4 separate regions of the Homo sapiens genome follow, and regions 2, 3 and 4 are each linked to region 1. The links are contacts of gene promoters, found by promoter capture Hi-C in blood cells and fetal thymus (Javierre and others, 2016). All regions are on one chromosome and are shown on one strand. The core of a region is centred on a gene start or on the middle of the fragment in contact, and the rest is flanking DNA. Distances in the headings are between cores, read along the strand shown. Region 1 holds the start of GP9 (glycoprotein IX platelet). Region 2 has its middle 15 kb from the start of CNBP. Region 3 overlaps HMCES (5-hydroxymethylcytosine binding, ES cell specific). Region 4 overlaps COPG1 (coat protein complex I subunit gamma 1).

The links. The method cuts DNA at HindIII sites, captures the fragments that hold promoters and counts their contacts. A CHiCAGO score of 5 or more calls a contact.
Region 2: a fragment that was not itself captured here is called in contact with the fragment with the promoter of GP9 in region 1 in 4 of 17 cell types (naive CD8 T cells, total CD4 T cells, non-activated CD4 T cells and 1 more); the score reaches 6.6 in naive CD8 T cells.
Region 3: a fragment that was not itself captured here is called in contact with the fragment with the promoter of GP9 in region 1 in 1 of 17 cell types (neutrophils); the score reaches 5.8 in neutrophils.
Region 4: a contact is called between a fragment that was not itself captured here and the fragment with the promoter of GP9 in region 1, in 1 of 17 cell types (naive CD8 T cells). The highest score is 6.1, in naive CD8 T cells.

Annotation. Positions count from the first base shown.
Region 1 is chr3:129,059,329-129,062,028 of GRCh38, reverse strand. It overlaps GP9 (glycoprotein IX platelet), which reads right to left and starts at 1,250. Exons shown (of 3, transcript NM_000174.5): 1 at 1,179-1,250; 2 at 410-535; 3 at 1-301. The coding sequence starts at 289. The HindIII fragment of the contact is 4,040 bases long and covers 1-1,935 here.
Region 2 is chr3:129,197,941-129,200,640 of GRCh38, reverse strand. No RefSeq gene overlaps it. Among named protein-coding and RNA genes, the nearest start is that of CNBP, 15 kb to the right of the region's middle. The HindIII fragment of the contact is 3,329 bases long and covers 1-2,700 here.
Region 3 is chr3:129,287,323-129,290,022 of GRCh38, reverse strand. It overlaps HMCES (5-hydroxymethylcytosine binding, ES cell specific), which reads right to left. Exons shown (of 7, transcript NM_020187.3): 3 at 1,026-1,169. Among named protein-coding and RNA genes, the nearest start is that of HMCES, 9.8 kb to the right of the region's middle. The HindIII fragment of the contact is 8,709 bases long and covers 1-2,700 here.
Region 4 is chr3:129,263,748-129,266,447 of GRCh38, reverse strand. COPG1 (coat protein complex I subunit gamma 1) reads right to left here. Exons shown (of 24, transcript NM_016128.4): 13 at 2,449-2,544; 14 at 656-899. Among named protein-coding and RNA genes, the nearest start is that of MIR6826, 7.0 kb to the left of the region's middle. The HindIII fragment of the contact is 2,735 bases long and covers 1-2,700 here.

The DNA of each region.
Region 1 (2,700 bases), core at 1-2,500:
GCAGATAGGTGAGGCTGCAGTCACAGTGCCAGGGGTTCTGCGTCACATCGAGGGTCTGCAGCTGGGGCAGGTGGTCAAAGGCTCCCGGGGGCACGGACTGAAGGCTGTTGTTGGCCAGCAGAAGGTGGCGGGTGCGGGCCGGCAGGGCAGGCAGGGCCGTGAGTCCGTGGCCCCTGCAGTCCACCCACAGCCCCATGGTTTCCAGGGCGCGGCAGGTACATGGGCTGGGGCAGTCCTTGGTGGCCTCTGCTGTGGCCCAGAGCAGGAACAGGGCTCCCCAGGCAGGCATGGGACAGGCTGGCTGCAGAGAGAGGGGCTGTGAGGGAGGGCCTGGCAGCCTGGACCGATCCTCAGGGACGGCAAGCACTGGGGATGTAGCGGAGCCTGACATGGGACGGGGTGCACTCACCTCCCTTCTCGGGTCTCAGCCTTCTCCTCTGGGAAACCAGCTGGTGACTAGGGAAGGTGGAGTGTGCCCAGCCCAGGCCTGGCTAACTGTCTCTGGACACCGTAGAAGGCCGGGCGGTGAGGGCGGCTGTGGATTGGGTAAGTTTGTTTTTGGGAAGGGGAAGGGACTTCCTGGCCCTTAGCAGAGACCCCATCCCCTGCTTGGGGATGAGAGGAGCAGATGGCTGCTAAATGAGTCCCAGCCCAGGACCACAGTCCCCAGAGACTAGGAAAGAGCCTTGGAGGGCCCTGCAGGCTGCGCCCAGCACCCCCCACCAGCTAAGTGAGCTGTTACCTGATTCCCAGATGCAGAAGACAGCAGGACAGGGACACTGGCTGGAGCAGGGAGGGGAACTCAGTGGGACCCCATCTGGAAAACCACTCATCTGGGCTAACACTGACTTGGGGAAACTGAGGCCCAGAGAGGGAAAGCAATGTGCCCAGGGCCACCGGTGTGGTGTCAGAGGCCAGACTCACACTCGGGTCTCGGCAACCGTGGCCCTCTGTTTGGTTCTTCCCCACAGGCGTTTCCCCTCCACCAGCAGAGCTCCCCCTACCCACAGCAGGTTTCCAGTGAATAAGTGTCAAATCAACTCACTCATCTTGACTCAGCCAAGGAGATGGTGTCTCAGAGGGAATGTCCCACCCAACCCTGTCTTGTTAAAGGGACAGGAACTGACCTCCTCTCTCCCTGTGGGAGGCCATGCTGGGTAATACGGAGGGCCACTTACCTGTGAAGCCTTTGGTCAGGTGCTCCTGTCTGGCCTGAAAGGTCCTGGCTGAGGCCTGGGTGGCAACTCTATGGGATACAGCTGAGGTGGCCGCTGCGGGAGCGGGCGGAAGGAAGTGATGAAAATAGCCTGGCTTATCCCCCCAGTGCAGCCTTGGGGCCTATTTCCAGAGGCAGGAGGCCCTCAGGGGCCCGCGCCTTGGGCACAGAACCACATCTCAACCCCGGTTTATAGAAGGGGGTCCCACTGTGCCGCCAGTGCCTTGATGGGCTTTGGAATCAGGTCTGTGGAGGACTGAGGGTGGCCCCTCACCTGCTCCCAGAAGGTGGGAACTAGGAGACCCCTGAGAAACGTGGCTCTGCTGGTTGTTCCTCCGAATCTCAGTTTTCCTCATCTGTAAAGTGGGAGCAGTGACCGGTCCTGCCTGCCTCACAGAGGTGTGGGCTGGGCAGCTCCCACTGGCTGAGAACACCATGGTGGGGAGAGTGACTTCATTTTTAACTCTCCTCCCTCCTCCTGTATACTCAAGGACGGAGTCTCTTCTTGGTGCCATGGTGTTTTTAGCTCCTGCCTAGTGCTTCTCCATGCCTCTTTCTAACAAACAGCTGTAGGCCTGGGAAGCAGAGCCTCTACCAAGTGTGAATCTCTAGCTAGAATTTTGGCCTATGGTTTTAACATTTGCAGTACATTTTCTTCTAGAGCACATTCTACTTAGGGGAGGGACACCATTTTCCATTTATGTTAGTGACATAAAGCTTCCTTTAAAAGATAAATATATTTTGGGATGGAGAATTGCTTGAACCCAGGAGGCAGAGGTGGCAGTGAGCCGAGACCGTGCCATTGCACTCCAGCCTGGGTGACAGAGCGAGACTCCGTCTTAAAAAATAAATAAAACAGGGTAAAAACACAGAAGTTACAGAAGCCTGGCAGGAAAAGCCAAAGACAGAAGGCTGACGGAGGCTTTAAACGCACTTCGTTGACATTCAGGACCCTCGGGAATATTCCTCGGCCCTACGGGGGTGGGGGTGTGCTTGTTCTTATTTTGGTCTCACATCCTTCTCAGGCCAGCCTTCCTCCTCCTGCATGGCCAAGCAGGGTGAGTCCTTCCTTGGGAGGCCGCCTGTTCTCTCCCCGCCTCCTGGTTCTGGATTTGGGTAGGGCAGGATTTGGGTGTTCACCCTCCTAGGAGGCCCTGAGAGGCTGCCAGGCCCCAGCTCTGCTTCCTCCACCCACTGATGCTGGGCTCAGAGAAGGGTGGGGAAGGTGCTGTTCCCCCACTGATGTCACACCTGCTCGGGGGCCTGGTTGCTGCTGGGGGTCCCCTGGTATGTGCTCAGTGGGGACTCTGACCGGAGCCTGGACCATGGAGAGGAGCCTCAGCCTGTCTGGCCCTTCCCTCCCTCCCCATGGAGCCTTGGCATGTTCCACCTCCTCTGCCCTGCACACATTCACCAGTGAGCCCCACGCAGGTGGGTAAGGGGTTCTGGAGTGAGTGGGGGTGCTGGAGCTGCCAGGCCAGGTG
Region 2 (2,700 bases), core at 177-2,676, 140 kb before region 1:
AGATGGGAGTTGAAGCGAAGATTCTGGAGAGCAAGGAGGGACACCGCAAAGGACAGATCCTTCAGAATCACCAGCAAGTGGCCGGGCACGGTGGCTCATGCCTGTAATCCCAGCACTTTGGGAGGCCGAGGCGGGCGGATCACTTGAGGTCAGGAGTTCGAGACCAGCCTGGCCAACATGGTGAAACCCTGCCTCTACTAAAAGTACAAAAATTAGCCAGGCGTGGTGGCTCATGCCTGTAGTCCCAGCTACTCGGGAGGCTGAGGCAGGAGAATGGCGTGAACCCAGGAGGCGGAGCTTGCAGTGAGCCGAGATCACACCAGTGCACTTCAGCCTGGGCGACAATGCGAGACTCCATCTCAAAAAAAAAAAAAAAAAAGAAACACCAGCAAGTACAGATGAGGAGGTGAAAGCAGGCACGGGGTGGCAGGTCTTGCATTCTCTGGCCTTTCTATCTCCTTTTCTGGGTCGCCAATGTTTAGCCTGGCTTCTTGTCTTGTTGCTTCACCATCAAGAATCTCAACGTAGTTGACTTTGGAGGTCATGGACCCTTGTACTTGAAACTCTTTTCTACTCTATCTCTTTTCTCTTTCCCAGCAGAAGGCTAATGGAAACCAGAAATTAAAAGTAGCTCTACTCTTCCTATTTATTCTGGCAAAACTCTTGGACTGAGTAGTATGGGTAATTGAGATACGAAGTTTTGAGATATTTTGCCAAAGTGATTAGCTGACCAAAAATGTTGAGAACCATTGCTTTGTCACATAGGATGAACATGACTGGAATCATTATTATTTATAAGGTCCTGTGGGTTGTTTTCTGATATAATAATAACAACAAAACATTTGAGTAGCACATTACAGTGTAAAAAGTACTTCTTATATATACTTGATTCCAAAGTCACAGACCTCTTGTGGGTAAGTGATAACTTCCTCATTGTATGGCAGTTCCACTTAGAAACTATTCATATTGACATCGATTCCGGAGATTCCAGATTCCATTTGCTGTATCATTGCAAAGGCCAGCATAAAATACAAGCCAACTGCTGTTATCAGCAAATCAAGGTTGGAAGGTACTTAAAAAACAGGAAAAGCGTGTGGAAAATGCCTTGTCTTAGCGACTCTCAAATGCAATGTAATAAATGCTGGCTCTGAGGACAACGTACAAATCAGGCAATCTCAGGTGTGATGCCAAGAGGGAAAATGAGGTATTCATTCAATAATAGTTCATTGGCTGGGCGCGGTGGCTCACGTCTGTAATCCCAGCACTTTGGGAGGCCAAGGTGGGCGGATCACGAGGTCAGGAGATCGAAACAATCCTGGCTAACACGGTGAAATGCCGTCTCCACTGAAAAAAAAAATTAGCCAGGCGTGGTGGCGGGTGCCTGTAGTCCCAGCTACTCGGGAGGCTGAGGCAGGAGAATGGCATGAACCCGGGAGGCGGAGCTTTTAGTGAGCCGAGATTGCACTACTGTGCTCCAGCCTGGGCAACAGAGCGAGACTCCATCTAAAAAAAAAAAAAAATAGTTCATTGAAGGCCCATGTGCCAAGTACGCTATTAGATACCAGGACCTTGTCTACTCTGAGCCTGTAGAGTCTGCTCTTAATTTATTTTATTTTAGGGACAGTCTTGCTCTGTCACCCAGGCTAGAGTACTCTAGGTATGTGCCACCACACTCGGCTAATTTTTATTTTTTAATTTTTTTGTAGAGACAGGGGTCTCACTTTGTTGCCCAGTCTAGTCTCAAAACTCCTGGCCTCAAGTGATCTTACCTCAGCCTCCCAAAGTGCTGGGATTACAGGCGTGAGCCACTGCACCCAGCCTGCAATTTAGAAACATATAATGAAATGATGAGATTTGTTTTCATGAAATGATGAGATTTGTTTTCAAGACCTTCTATAATTTTAGTTGGCAGAGTTAGCTTTTTTTCCTCTCTACTGTGAATCCTAAGATATAATTTCACCTTTTATGCCCCTGTGTAACAACCCAGTGTATTCTCCTTCACATAGAAATAGATTGCTTGGCACAGGGGCTCACTCCTGTAATCCCAGCACTTTGGGAGGCCGAGGCGGGCGGATCACTTGAGGTCAGGAGTTCGAGACCAGCCTGGCCAACATGGTGAAACCCTGCCTCTACTAAAAGTACAAAAATTAGCCAGGCATGGTGGCGGGCACCTGTAGTCCCAGCTACTCAGGAGGCTGAGGCAGGAGAATCACTTGAACCTGGGAGGCAGAGGTTGCAGTGAGCTGTGATCACGCCACTGCATTCCAGCCTGGGAGACAGAGCGAAACTCTGTCTCAAAACAACAACAACAACAAAATTAGCTGGGCATGGTTGTGGGTGCCTGTAATTCCAGCTACTTGGGAGGCTGAGGCAGGAGAATTACTTAAACCCAGGAGGTAGAGGTTGCAGTGAGTCAAGATCGTGCCACTGCACCACTCCAGCCTGGGTGATAAAGTGAGACCCTTCTCAAAAAGAAAAAAGAAAAAAAGAAATATATCAAAGTAGGTATTAGGAGAAAGTGAGTAAGGGTCTATAGGTCTGATGTGAGGAAACTCAAGGAGACTGCTCCTTGGCTTCTCTAGAAAATCTACCACAAGAGATTTAATGTGGCCTTCAAGAAAGACCCTTGGAAGAAACCCTGGAAATGCTAAGACCTTGGCCAATGTCCCCTAACTTCTCAATGGGAAGTTATTTACTGGT
Region 3 (2,700 bases), core at 74-2,573, 230 kb before region 1:
GTAGAGACGGGGTTTCACCGTGTTAGCCAGGATGGTCTCGATCTCCTGACCTCGTGATCCGCCCATCTTGGCCTCCCAAAGTGCTGGGATTATAGGTGTGAGCCACCGTGCCCGGCCACTCTCTTTTCTTATGTATAAAGAAAGTCACAACTCACATAGATGTTGAAAAGATTAAATAATGTACATAAAAGCAATCACCTCTTTTCTAACAAATAGGTACTTGTCATAGCTAGTCTTCAAAGGTGCCTCCCCAATGAAGCATGCTTCCCAGTATTCACACCCTATGTAGACACCTCCCACACTGAATTTGGGCTGGCTCTGTGTAACCCATAGAATGCAACAGAAGTAGGCCGGGCGTGATAGCTCACACCTGTAATCCCAGTACTTTGGGAGGCCCAGACAGGTGGATCACTTGAGCCCAGGAGTTTGAGACCAGCCTGGGCAACATAGCCAGACCTTGTCTCTATTTAAAAAAAAAAATTAAACAATAACAATAAAAGAATACAGCATAAGTAATGCTGTATGACTGCCAAGATTAAGTGATGCTGTAAGACAAAGGCTTATATCTTCTGTCCTGCTCTGTTGGATCATGAGCTCTGGGGTAAATGAGTCACCGTAACAGAAGCCTGGCTACCCTGACACCCTCGAGCTAGGCATATGGAAAGCCTTCTAGTTGTTCTAGTCATCCCAGCTGAAGGGTCAGATGTGGGTGAAGAAGTCATCTTGGACATCCAGCCTCAGCTGCCATCTAACTGCAACATGAGAACTTCCAAGTGAAAACTGCCCAGATGAGCCCAGTCAACCCAGAGAATATGAGAGATAATGTTTATCATTTTGTTTCACACTACTAAGTCTGGTGTGGTTTGTTATGTAGTAACAAAATAGCATTCCACATTAACAACTGGGAACATTCTTTTTTGTGTTATTTATTTATTTTTGGTTGTCCTCTGTAGGCTAGGATGGAAACACCCTTTGGAACCTTATTTCTGAGGTATACGGGGCACTAATAGCTACCAGCCACCTACCTTAAATGACCGTTTCTCCATTACGGTATCACTACGACAGTTGGTAGTATTGAACTGCAGCTTGGAAGGATCACTTTCTTTGAACCAAGAAGGGACCAAGCCCCAGCGCATGGGAGCAATGATACGCTCAGATGAGTCTGCATCCTGCCACGGAGAGAAGATCTAGTGAGGAGATCATAATGAAATTCTAACCTAATTTAACATATGTATTTATTACATTATTTAGGAGTATTGAAATATAAAGAATTCAAGATTATTTTTAAACAGGGAATCTACTTGAAAACAATTTTTTTATTTTTTTTGAGATAAGGTCTGGCTCTGTCATCCAGGCTGGAGTGCAGTGGCGCTATTTTGGCTCAATGCCACCTCTACCTCCTGGCTCAAGCCATCCTCCCACCTCAGCCTCCCAAGTAGCTGGGACTATAGACACACGCCCCCCCATACCCAGCTAATTTTTGTATTGTTTATAGAGATGGGGTTTCGCTATGTTGCCCAGGCTGGTCTTGAACTCCTGGGCTCAAGTGATTTGCCCACCTTAGCCTCCCAAAGTGTTGGGATTGTGGGTGTGAGCCACCACAACCAGCCAAAAACAATTTAATGACTTATCATGATGTAGGTAACTTGAGTTCTTTAGCAATCATATTTACTAGAATGTAAGACATTCTGCTTGAATAAGGTAGAGGGATGCAAAGAGGTTTAGTTTCTTTAAACTTTTTTGTTTTTTAGAGACAGTTTCGCTCTGTTGCCCAGGCTGGAGTGCAGTGGCACAATCATAGCTCACTGCAACGTTGAATTCCTGGGCTCAGGTGATCCTCCTGCTTCAGCCTCCCAAGTAGCTGGGACTACAGGTGCACACCATCATGTCCAGCTAATTTTGTAGAGATGAGGTTTTACTATGTTCCTCAGGCAGGTCTCGAATTTTTTTATTTTTATTTTTTTTTGAGACGGAGTCTCGCTCTGTTGCCCAAGCTGGAGTGCAGTGGCACGATCTTGGCTCATTGCAACCTCTGCCTCCTGGGTTTAAGCGATTCTCCTACCTCAGCCTCCCGAGTAGCCGGGACTACAGGCTTCCACCACCACGCCAGCTAATTTTTGTATTTTTACTAAAGACGGGGTTTCACCATTCTGGCCAGGCTGGTGTTGAACTCCTGACCTTGTGATCCACCCGCCTCAGCCTCCCAAAGTGCTGTGATTACAGGCATGAGCCCCTGTGCCTGGCCTGGTCTCGAACTCTTAGGCTCAAGTGATTTTCCTGCCTCGGTCTCTCAAAGCACTGGAGGATGCTATTTTTAGGAAAACCTATATACAAGGTTGGCCCTCAACAACTCAGAACTAGATTTTGAGAGTATTCCCACTTTTCCCCAACTCATAAGGGTGGTTTATTCCGCCTAGTCTGTGTAAACAATAAAGTTTATGCCAACACCTGTTTTCCTTCTGGGAGTCTGAAATTTTGGTACCTGCTAGGTATCTGGTAGAGTGCCTACATGATCAGCCTCCAATAAAAACCTCGGACCCTGAGTCTCTAATGGGTTTCTCTGGGCATAAACGTTGTACATACTAACCTGGGCAACATGGCAAACTCCAGTTTCTACCAAAAAAAAAAAAAATTATTCTGGTGTGGTGGCATGCACCTGTAGTTCCAGCTACTTAGAAGGCAGAGGTAGGAGGACCACTT
Region 4 (2,700 bases), core at 86-2,585, 200 kb before region 1:
AAAGTTAAAAAAAAAATCACTTAAGGCAAGGCACAGTGGCTCTGTAATCCCAGCACTTTCAGAGACTGAGGCAGGAGGATAGCTTGAGCCCAGGAGTTCGTGACCAGCCTGGACAACATAGCAAGACCCCGTCTCAATTAAAAAAATACTTAAAAAATTATAGGGGTTAAGAACCATGGCCGAGCACGGTGGCTCACGCCTGTAATCCCAGCACTTTTGGGAGGCCGAGGCGGGCAGATGATGAGGTCAAGAGATCGAGACAATCCTGGCCTACATGGTGAAATCCCATCTCTACTAAAAATACAAAAATTAGCTGGGCATGATGGCACACACCTGTAGTCCCACCTACTCGGGAGGCTGAGGCAGGAGAATCGCTTGAACCCGGGAGGCGGAGGTTGCAGTGAGCTGAGATTGCGCCACTGCATTCCAGCCTGGTGACAGAGCGAGATTCCATCTCAAAAAAAAAAACAAAACAAAAAACAAAGAACTGTTCAACTAGATGACATGTAAGGTCCTGCCTACAATATTATGAAAAACAGCTTGTGCAGCAAGAACACTGAGTGCACAAATCCCCACTGGAGGCTCAGGTCCCTTTGCTGGGACATTTATTCAAGGGTAAGCTAAGTTTCCAAGTTCAGCCCTGGCTCAGACCTACCTGCCCGGACCTCCTCATGCTCCAAGACCACTCGGTTATAGATGAAGCGGATGTACTTTGAGGGATTGGTGGTCTTGGGCCCCTCCTGGCCCAGGAGATGTAGAATACGGGTGGCCAGCACTGTGAACTCGCAGTCCTCGATGAACTCGCACAGATGTGACAGCCCTGTCTCCTTGCTCTCTGAGTTCTCTTCAATGATGCTGATGATGCAGTCCACGATAGCGCGCTTATACTCAAAGCCACCCTGCAGAGAGAAGCTGAGCTAAGCAAGGAGCCTGCTCTCTCCAGAAAAGAGTTGAAGACCTGAGCTGGACCAAGGACAGTTGTCCAAACACAGAACTTGGAGACAGGGCACTTGGTTCTCTGGGCCTCTATCACTCTTTCCTGTCAAACAAAAGGCTGGTCAGGTGCAGTGGCTCACACCTATAATCCCAGCACTTTGAGAGGCTGAGGTGGGTGGACCACTTGAGCTCAGGAATTCGAAATCAGCCTGGGCATCATGGAGAGACCCCATCACTACAAAAAATAGAAAAATTAGTTGGGCATGGTGGTGCATGCCTATAATTCCAGCTGCTTGGGGGTCTGAGGTGAGACGATTGCTTGATCCCAGGAGGTTGAGGCTGCAGTGAGCCGTGATCACACCACCACACTCCAGCCTGGGTGACAGATGGAGGCCGGGCGCAGTGGCTCACGTCTGTAATCCCAGCACTTTGGGAGGCCAAGGTGGGTGGATCACCTGAGGTCAAGAGTTTGAGACCAGCCTGACCAACATGGTAAAACCCTGTCTCTACTAAATATAAAAAATTAGCCGGGCGTGGTGGGGGGCACCTGTAGTCCTAGGTACTCGGGAGGCTGAGGCAGGAGAATCACTTGAACCCAGGAGGTGGAGGTTGCAGTGAGCCAAGACCTCACCACTGCACTCCAGCCTGGGCAGCAGAACGAGACTCCTACTCAACAGAAAAAAAAAAAAACTGCTATCATGCATACAGTGTCTCCAAAGTGCTAGGCCTGGCCAGGCATGATGGCTCACACCTGTAATCCCAGAACTTGGGTGGCTAAGGTGGGAAGATCACTTATAGCCAGGAGTTTGAGACCAGCCTGGGCAACCCAGCAAGACCCCATCTCTACTTAAAAAAAACAAACACAATCACCAAAGTGCTGGGCCCATTAGCTGACAACTCACTAAACATTAGTGCCCTTCTACAACAACATTCTTGGGAAACGCAAAGACACTCAAGGCAATGGCTCCTCTACTGCCTAGTCCATGGGCCACTCTGGGGCTGGGTGAAAGGGGTACCATGTATCTGAGGAACAAATCTACTCCATGAACATCTGCTATTGCTCCTAAGAATTAACCCATTTTGTTGAGACGTCCAAGAAAGGTGGCATAAGTGAATCAGTAATTCACGTCGGGAACAGAAATAGAACCAATGTCGTATTATTAGCACCGGTTTCACAAGAAACCACTCCTAGAGCTCCTGGAATGGTCTAGAATATTTCTGCACTAGAGTCCACCAGAAAAGAACATGCATTTTCCCATCTTCTGCACAAGCATCACCTCAGGACATCCAGTTTTTAAAGTCAGGCTGGTGAGTCATAGTTATTACTGTAATTACTAGCAATTGGTACGTGTTTACATGTCCACAAGGAGTTTAAAGGGTTGCAGGCACCATGAAAACCAGTTGGTTAACAGGCTAACATAAGCACACGCACAAAGCTGAGCATGGAGCCAGTGGTCAGGTCACTCCCTGCACCAGGAGACCTGGCATCCCCCGAATGCCCCTGACTCTTACCTCTTCCCGCAGCATGGTGAACAGGAAGTTCATAAGGACGGCGTGTTTGCGAGGATATTTCTGACACAGGGCACTGATGGCCTGGACAACCACCACCTAAATGAAATAGACGTGCATGAGCAGCAGGCCCTGCCACCAAGATGGGGTGACTCAGTTCCCTGAGTGCCCACTGAGTCCTTCCTTAGGTAAGGCCAGGCCTTGGGCATGACACAAGGGCAAGGAGACCAGAGGAACTCAACTCCACGCTTGAAG